2 separate regions of the Homo sapiens genome follow, and region 1 is linked to region 2. Evidence: promoter capture Hi-C in human tissues and cell types (Jung and others, 2019). All regions are on one chromosome and are shown on one strand. Each heading gives the region's core, a stretch centred on a gene start or on the middle of the fragment in contact. The rest is flanking DNA. Distances are from core to core; before and after follow the strand shown. Region 1 overlaps LOC124901733 (a long non-coding RNA gene). Region 2 holds the start of CPED1 (cadherin like and PC-esterase domain containing 1).

What was found. The method cuts DNA at HindIII sites, captures the fragments that hold promoters and counts their contacts. A contact is called where the count stands out against the background at its distance.
Region 1: a fragment that was not itself captured here is called in contact with the fragment with the promoter of CPED1 in region 2 in 2 of the 25 tissues and cell types used here (bladder and small bowel).

The regions. Positions count from the first base shown.
Region 1 is chr7:120,868,381-120,873,109 of GRCh38, reverse strand. The region is part of intron 1 of LOC124901733 (a long non-coding RNA gene); the gene reads right to left. Among named protein-coding and RNA genes, the nearest start is that of TSPAN12, 13 kb to the right of the region's middle. The HindIII fragment of the contact is 6,134 bases long and covers 1-4,729 here.
Region 2 is chr7:120,986,658-120,991,655 of GRCh38, reverse strand. It overlaps CPED1 (cadherin like and PC-esterase domain containing 1), which reads right to left and starts at 2,945. Exons shown (of 23, transcript NM_024913.5): 1 at 2,744-2,945; 2 at 1,786-2,265. The coding sequence starts at 2,034. RefSeq lists an enhancer at 3,690-3,769. The HindIII fragment of the contact is 8,627 bases long and covers 583-4,998 here.

The DNA.
Region 1 (4,729 bases), core at 755-3,254, 120 kb after region 2:
AAATCTAACACTTATTAATCTAGATACACCCAGAGGAAACTTGAGTATCTGATTTTTATAACACACGGACTATTTCCAAAGCTCTCTTAGAAACAGGAGTTTGATTTTATTATTATTTTTTGACCAAACAACATATATAAACTAATATTATAAACCTAACTTTGACCCCTAAAAATTGAGATGTACTTTGTCATTTTCATAACACTGAACTACTGTTATCAATAAGATTAAAGGACATTCCCCATATTAGCACTTAGTGTTTAGATTTAAGAAAAGGCTGTAAGGTCATGGATATTTTACCTCTGAAAAAATGTCTATGATACTGTAAAATTACACAAAAAATTATCTTTCCCACCTAGAAGGGATAGAATTTTAAATATGTGATCTAATTTCTCAAAATTGAAACTATAATAATAAAATTAAATAAGTTAATAGAATGTTTGAAATGAAAAGCTCTTTATCCCTGTGGATGGAGAGCTATTAAACACTCTAGGTTTCCTGGCTCAGGAAAAACCCGATTAGAACCTTAGTTTTCTTCCCAGTTTACTGGTCATTTCGCTGACTATAGACTTGAAGTAGCTCAGATACAAAATTAGACTTGGAAATAAAATGATCTGCTAAAAGTTAAACTTTCTTGAAATATTTTCTCAGTCTTTTTTCAAAAAGTTAGCTCAATAATTCTTTAATGACCAGAAGCCACTTATCTTAGAACCTTAAGTACACAAAACATAGATGACTAAACACACACCCACACAATATTTTTACTTTAAATCCTTATGCAAAAACAGACATCACAGAATCCTTACACTAAAGCTCATTAATTTTTCAAGACTCTCATTAGAGTGTATTTCTTCTGACTTTGAGTTCTATTCTATCATCTTGGTTCTCCTGATTTTCTGTCCAAGGTAGATTATAAAATCTGTTCCTTTGCTTTTGGCAAGAAAGAGAGCAGGGGATAGGGAAGGGGAGAGCTATGTAGCTTGCAGCAAGCACACCTATGATCAGCAAAAATAATAAATCAGCAAAATCTTGAGAGTGAGGATACAAAAAATTATATTATAAATTTACTTACTAGAGAAGCTTATAAGCCACTCACGTTCATCAGCTCTGAGATTAATACTGAGAAAACAGTTTAATGTATTCACTGTTAAAATTCAGGCACATTTAGGCAAAACAAAAACAAAGTCACAAAACCATGCTAATATCCACAGGTTCATGTAGGCAGGGGCTGGGAAAATACCCCAGCTCTAGGGCTTGAGGGACATGTCAGAAAGGTCAAAGCAGACCCTGGCTTGCTTCTTGCAGGTTTTAGTGTCCAAAGTATCTAAGGAAATTCAACACTGAGAGTGTGTGTGTGTGTGTGTGTGTGTGTGTGTTGAAGGGTGGTCATAGTTGTGGGGGCAGATGGTAGACAACATTCAAAAATTGTCACTAAGCAAGTGGTAACACTATAGCGGTTTAAAGCTCCCTTCTCAACAGGTTCCTGCAAAGTAAGAAGACAACTAAATTATAGGGAGCAAGGTCTACCCTCTAGAGGGAAATATTAAGAATAGTAATGAGGCTTAGCCAAGCAGATGGAATTTGGGAAAGATTTTTGATTCCAAATAGGATTCTAAACTGCAGTGTTAGGCAGGGAAAGTAGAGGCAGGAACCCATAATTAGTGTTTGGCCGATAGTGTAGGGCAAATAGGGCAGGCAAGCCATAACTGGGAGACAAAGAGATTCTAGGAAGGCCTGGCAGCAAGTGGGCTTGTCCTTCCCGTTATACTGTCCACAGCATCAGGATTGTTTCAGGGGTTCAGCATGCAGAAGAGGGGCATCAGGAACTTAGCAAGTGTCTGCTAAGAAAGATAAGGGCTGGCATTATTAACTTAGATGAAGCAGGCATGGGCAATGTTTTTCCTTTATTTCTTCCCTTCCCTTCCCATCTCTTCCATTTCCCTTTCCCTCCCTCCCTCCCTTCCTTCCCTCTTCCTTCTTTTCTTTCTCTCTCTTTTTCTTTCTAGTTATTACTTCATCCTCTGTAGTCATTTCTTAGACCATTACAACTTTGCTCCCATTCACTTCTTTTGTACTGTTATTGGCAAATATATTTTACATGTATTATGCTTTTATACGTTATAAGCCTAACAATTTTCTCTCTTGCTCTCTCTTAGTATATAGATATAATTTTATGCAGTTGCTTTTAAATCAACTGAGAGAAGAAAAGAGAAAAATATGTATTGAAATTATCATTTAGAGTCACGCAATATTACGTTTATTGGTGCTCTTTGTGTGAATTTGAATTACTTTCTGTTATCATCTTCAGCCTGAAGAATTCCTTTTGTATTTCTTATAAGGAGGGCCTGCTAGCAACAAATTCTTTCAATTTTTTGTTTGTCTGGGAAACTCTACTTTGCCTTCATTTTTGAAAGATAGCATTACTGGATATATAATTTTTGGTTCACTATTTTTTACTTTGAGCCCTTTGAATATATTATCCCACTGTCTTCTGGCCTCTCTTGTTTCTTCAGAGAAGTCAGTTGTTAAGCCTATTGGGGTTTCCTTGTAAAGAACATGCCATTTTCCTCTTTTGACTTTCAAGATTTCCTTCATGTTTAGACATTTAGGATTTTTCTATGCTGTGTCTGTTTGTGAGTATCTTTGCACTTATCCTATGTGCTTTCTGGAAATGCACTAGGACATTCTGGACATGTATTTTATTATTTTCTAATAAATATGGGAAGTTTGCAGTCATCATGATTTCTAATATTTTTTCATCTTTCTCTCTCTCCTGTCCTCCTGGCACTTTCGTTATGTGTATGATAGTGCACTTAATGGTGTTCCAATATTTTTCTGAGGTGCTGTTAGTTTTTCTTCATTCTTTTCTCCCCTCTGTTCTTCAGCTATATAATCTCAACTGATCTACCTTAAAGTTTGCTAATTCTTTTGCCAATTCAAATCTGCTGTTGAGTCTGTCCAGTGAATTTTTCAATTTAACTTCTTGTACTTTTTTATTCCAGAATTTTGTTCTGTTTTGCAATGTTTAAATCTCTGTATAGAGATTTTCTATTTGATATGACATTGCCATCACACATTCCTTGACTTCTTTACTCATGCTTTCTTTTGACCTGTGAACATATTGATGAGGGCTACTTTGAAATGTTTTTCTGTTCGATCTAACAGCAGGTCACTGTCACAGGCAGTTTCTGTTGTCTGTTTTAGGTCTTTTATGAGTCATACTTTCTTATTTTTTGTCAGGCCTCGAAATTTTTTATTGGAAACTGCACATTTTAGATAATATATTTTTAGCAACTCTAGATATTGGTCCTCTTTTCCCCTTTGGGGCTAATTATTATTTGTTTATTTTTTTTTTTTTTTTTAGTAACTGGCCATATTATTTTTGTGAAATCTATTTTCTCCTATACTGTGAAGCCTCTGAGGTTGCTCTGTAGGGAAGCACAGCACTGTTTTTTTTTCACAGTCACCCTGGGATGACAATGGTCCTAATAGGAGGCTCTTCTATTCTTTTCCTGACTACAGTCAGCTGTTAAACTCTACTAACTAACTTGGTGCTGTGGCATGCACCTGTAGTTTCAGCTACTAAGGAGGCCAGGATTTCAAGGCCTATGAAGTGCACTATGATTGTGCCTGTGAATAAATAAAAAATAAATGAAAGTTTCCTGCTGATTGTTGTATCATTTTCAACAATGCCTCTGACATATATTCCTCTACAAATTAATCCAATCAAAATGTAGCTTCTTCAAAGGAATAGTTTCTGAGGTCAGTGTTTGATATTTGTTCTGACTGCAGAATGACTCTGCCCAGCTGTCTAAAACCCCGATTCTGTCTTCATTCATGGATCTAATGAAGGTACAGCCTAGACCATATGGTTTAGGCTGTACCTTCATTAGATTTAGGAGTGCCTTTTATCACAACCATCACTGTTTTTGAGAGCAGCCTTAGGCTCTAACTTCCTGTTTCCTGGTAAGCAGGTATATGCAAACCTACCCAGAAAGGCCAAGGAAGTTGGAAAGCTGAAGAAAGGCTGACAAATCCAGTTTCTCAGCAAGAAATATTTAATAGGGACTTATGAACCAAAGAAATGTCTCGGGCAGCTTCAAGAAGATTGATCCTGTGTCCAGCCCTCTACAAAGTTGTTTTCTTTTTTTGTTTTTTGTTTTTTGTTTTTTGACATGGAGTTTCACTCTGTCACCCAAGCTGGAGTACAGTGGCATGATCTCGGCTCACTGCAACCTCCACCTCCTGGGTTCAAGCGATTCTCCTGCCTCAGCCTCCTGAGTAGCTGGGATTACAGGCACCCGCCATCACGCCTGGCTAATTTTTGTATTTTTAGTAGAGACGGGGTTTCACCATGTTGACCAGGCTGTTCTCGAACTCCCAACCTCAAAATGATCCTCCGGCCTCGGCCTCCCCAAGTGCTGGGATTACAGGAGTGAGCCACCGCGCCCTGCCTAGAAAGTATCCTGTATATAGCAAGCTTTTAGGGAAAAGGCATGTGCAGGGGTCACACTTCAGACTTTCTTGCTGAAACTTGTGACCACTGGGGAAATTAGAAAGCATCTCTGTGAGGGGCTATCTATGCTACAAACATCGTTTAAACATTTTGCTGTAGAATACGTTGGTATACAGGAGTCAAATATCTGTCATCATGGTTGTTTAATTCAAGATGGTGTCACTCTTTCCATGCAACTGGCTGTTTTCCTATACTTGTCCATGCTTTGTTGCA
Region 2 (4,998 bases), core at 1,696-4,195:
AGCCCACAAATAACAGCTAACATATGCCTAAATTACAAACAAAGTAGGAATCACACAGAGTGAACAAGGGGAGTAAGAAAGCTGTAAGTTCATGAATAAAACCTTTTCATTCAAAATTCCTAGCAAAAATTTTAGGCATTAAATAAGAGCAAGACTATCTCAACTATTTTTTAAGAAATTGCCTTTCTCAATGTTGAAACTAACAAGAAATGACTTTAACAGTCACAGTTTACATCCATTGTAACTGTGATGTAGTCAGGAAAAGAAAAAAGTTAATGCTAGTATAAATGAACAACAACAACAAAAATACACATTCTTCAATAACTTTACTGTGCCTAAAAATAGATGTACAATTTCAGTTGCAGTTTCATTTTAAAGTGTTTCAACTTATATTATCTACTATTCTTTGTCATAAGATAGTTCTTGGTCAGGATGTTTCCTGGCATTACGGATAACAAATGAAGTCACTTAAAAGTTTAAAATTTTCCTTGTTTTAACTTAATGTTATTTTGTATTTCAGTAAGTTCTTGTAGTTGTGGTTTCAAAAATTATTACAAGGGCTTTGAATTGACTTTTATTTGGAGCATCAGCCCTGCAGTAGGAACCAAGCAGCTTGATAGCTATTGCTCTGGGGATGCATCTTGTCATAATGCTAACCATGTGACCTACCTAAATGGCACTGTCAGGCTCCTTGTTCATAAAATGCTAATAATCCTATCTACTGTACCTGTCTCACAGGGCAGTAGTCTGAAACGAAATAAATAAAAGAGTTTTTAAAAGAAGTGGTGCTGGTCAATCGTGGAGGTTTTGGTAATAATGGTAGCAACGGAGCTGGTGTTCAAGTAGAAATTCTACTTCAAACGGTAACCGGCATCATAAGATCGACCAGAATCTACTGTAGATATAAGATGCTACTTACAGAGCCCTCTATTTTGTTGCTACAATACTACTTGTTGTAACATAAAATTTAGTAGCTTTGCCACCATGATCTTTTTTGCATGGATTTTTTTTTATTTCTTCATGTTCTGTTTTACACTTGACTATGTTACAGGTCATTATATTACTGATAGGCATGAGGAGAGTGGTATATTAAAATAGAAATCCTGTGTTACTTTGTGTGCTTTTTGTGTTTTTTTTCAATATTTGACAAGTAAGATTAGTAAGTTTATCTGAATAGTATAAATATAGAATAATCTGTATTTCCCTGATCCTATAAACAATAAAATACATTGTATCAATTCTTTTGAAGAAACCTATTATCCTATTATTTTAATGCTTTCGAAGTAAATATATTGCTTTAGAAATGTGGTCACCAATTAAGAATCAATCTAGCTAGTTACAAAATGAAACTTTGGAGAATCTTTGAGTCTGGAATGGTCTGGGCACTCATACTGACTGCCTTGAGAAAAGAGACACTCAAGGTTTATCAAAGTTTTTGAAACTTTGATTTATGTTTTTGAATTGTAAATCCTCAGATCTCTTAGAATACTGATATTTTAGAAAGAATCCACATCATTTTATGCCTCCTCCAAACTGTCTACTTCATTCCACTGAAATGAAGTGAAATCCTAAGAGATAAAGTAATGCCAGAACTTTCTGGAAGTAACTATAAGAAGTTGAAGCTTATGTAACGTGTTTCCCAGTCATCAGGTCACTCTCTAGGCTGTTTACACTCTGGATCCCTTTCAGACCTCATGGAAGTTAATTTTAGTTTTATAGAAAGGACAGAGAAGCAGATTGCTGTCTTTGCAGAAACTGTCTCCGTTAAGCTTATGAGAGTCTTACCTTTCTGGTTTCCTGGGCATTACCAGAGAGAAGGAAGCACTGTTTGTCCTGAGAGAATCCTTTCTTGCATCTGCTTGCCTGGGTTTCAGTGGATGTGTGTGGGACAGCCCCAGGGGCAGCGGCTGTGAGCTTCCTCGACCCTCGGAGGGTCAGAGTCTGGTAGAAGAGACAGATTGCCACCACTAAGCCCACCAAGAAGGGTCGGGGGCAAAATCGCCGACGACAAGGGAACACTGGGCGACAGACCATGACCAGTTCAGCTTCACTTGGCCCCTGTCCACGTTGCGGGAAAAGTCATAGCAGCTATTTTTTGTCAGCATGAAAAATACTAATCTGTCTTCTTTTTCCCCAACTCCAATCAAGTTTGCTTCATCCCTGCTTAAGAATTTTCCAAAAGGTTGTGCCAAAGAATCATAGGTCCCGAAAGTCTGAGGCTTTTAATAAGAGCTCTTCCATGGATGACAGTCAAAAGTGGATGACCTGAGTTTAAAAAAAGACATCAAATAATAATAGTTGTAACGAATAACCTGAGTGTACCCCAGGCTGCCAAACTGTTGCTTCCAGCAATGCCTTATTCTCACATCTTTCAACTCACAGTAAAGGAGTCCGACTCTGCCTCAGCTTTGCAGGAAGAGAGAAAACAATACCAAAGTATATCTGGAGTCTGAAAACAGCATTGAAGAACGCAAAAGATTAAAACCCAAAGTGCCTGTTGCACAGCTGAACTCAGGCCAGGTTGCCTTAGCAGTTCCTCAATTTTCCTCCGGTTTTAAAGCAGTCTTGCTTTCAGCCTTTTGTATGCTTCCCTTCATTTAGTTTTAAATTCCCACTGTCCTGTAAGTATTCACGGCTTTTAACATAAAAAGGGCATACGCAATTTGAATGGACATGGTTACTGTCAGGGTTTTTGCTTGAATTTGTTTCATTCCGTCTCAAGTTCAAAGTTCTATGTACTTACTCAGTTTTCATCCTTTTAGCCAGGAAAAAAAAAGTTTCCATGATTTCCTAATGGATTGCTGATGAAAACCACTCGGAAGGAAACACCCAGTCGTATGACTCCAATTCATCTCACACACACACAGAGAGAGACACACACACACACGCACACAGACACATAAACACACGCGCGCGCGCCCGCTGCACGCCCGGCGGGAGCAGAGGACCTCGGCATCGCAGCCACCCGGGGCCGGGCAGAGCGGGGCGGAGCTAAGGCCGGGTTCCTCTGGCCCTGGGGGCTGCTGGAGCAGCGCTGTCAGCCCTGTGTCCGAAACCGTGGGCTTCCCCACTTTGGAAACAGCAGCTAGCATTTCCCCAAATGAGGCTGCCCACCCAGAGCTGCAGAATTTAGAAACGTATCTGATGTCTGATCCTCTGTGCAACTTCTTTTTCCTAATACAGAATTGGAAAAACAAATAGCCTTAGCCAATTGGTGACAAAGGTCGAGAATGAGACTAAAGTGAACTCCATGAGTGAATTGGGATATTCTTCACTCCAGGGAATTGTGGTTACTCTTCTGAGGATAAGAGGGTCACAAGTACTGTCTGGACCTCAGACAGCAAGCACCAGAATAACTCAGTCGTCTCTCTGTGTCTTAGTATGGAACTCAGATCACAGATGTTCTTATTACTCCTTTCCTGGACTAATTAATTGGGTCTTTCAATGATCTGATGCTTCATGGCCTGACATTTTGCTCCTAAAATGAGTCGATTATAGCAGGTGTTGGGGGTAACTTTTGCCCAGTAGATAAAGGTACACAGTGGGCTTTGTCCAGAATCAGCTCAGTCTAATTCTGTGCAGACCTTCGGGTGGACGCTGCTAATAGTGCAATTCTGCAAACCCCCTTCCACTTTTGCTGAGGCTGTCAAGGCGAAAGGAAATCAGTCCTTGCTTTGTGAACTCTGGATACCCAGGGCTGTCTTAGCGCATAGCAGGCATTATTTAAAGGCTCTGGACCTGAAGAGGTTTTCAAACTTGTTTCTAAGCCAAACTCTTGTGGGTTGAGGTTCTCCGTGAGGCCACACCCCTAGAGTGAGCCTCACCCAGAGGCACGCTGCTGTCAGCCCCTTGTATTTTGAGAGACGGAGCGCCCCCTAGGGGTGCCCAGCTAGCACAGATTCAGAGAAATGGGCATCTAGAGTTCCTTGCTTGTGAGAAAGAAACCCTTTTAACATCCTATAGAACAAATTAATTAACACATTACAGAAGAAATATTCACACGGAAGCTGGATTTATCCCAAGCCCTTGCATGTATCGCCTCCAGTGGCTTTAATATTATTTTATGTATAGGTTCAGAGTCCTTAATCTTATGACAAATGGGATAGAGAAAAATAAAGTGATGCTTCACTTTTAGAAGCCAAAAGAGTTTTAAGAGAAAATGGCTGAACAGTGGTGTTGTAGGACATATCGTTTTGGTGGATGCAATGTGATTTGAGAGATAATAAGAATTGTGAGATTTCTAAATTGGAATCCAGGGTGTGACAATGCTGTTACTGAGTGATAAGGAATAGGCAGACAGTTCTATTAAGTTCTGTTAAGGCAAGAAGTCTGAAAAACAGAGTTTGGGGAATCTAAAGAGTCATTCTTATGCTTTATTAAATTGTTGAGAACAAGGTACAGAAGAAAGTAAATCAGATGCTAAAATAAAATTGCCATTCGGTTGGGAGAAATGAAAGACAACAGTATTGAAAATTTTAAGATAATATAGCTAGACTTCAAATAATGGGAATTGGGAAGAAGGTGGAAAATTAGTATCCCAGAAATGATTCTAGTAGATTAAAGAACCCCATTTCCCATTTTAACCACTGAGTCCAAGGGAGTGGAAGAAAGCAGTAAGGAAATATTTGCAAGAGAGAGAAAAGAGGTAGCTTGAGAAGGTGCAAACAAGAGGTGGAAAGGAGATATAGCAGGAATTATCACCAAATAGACTAAGGCGATACACAAGCATCTGATTTTAGAGTAAACCCAATCTGGATATGATTCATGGCACTGCCTTTTATCAGCTGTTCTTAAACAAGTGGTTTGACCAAAGTCTCAGCTTTCCTCATTCGTGATATAAGGATACTAATGTTTCCTTTGAAGTGTTGTTGGTACAACTAGTTGAGATAATATATGGAAAGCAACTAAGCATTCTGTATTTGCTGGATAAATGAATGCTGAATGCATGTATGTTAAGGTTTGAATCCTGAGGCTGTGCTCCTTCCTCACTGAGTTTAT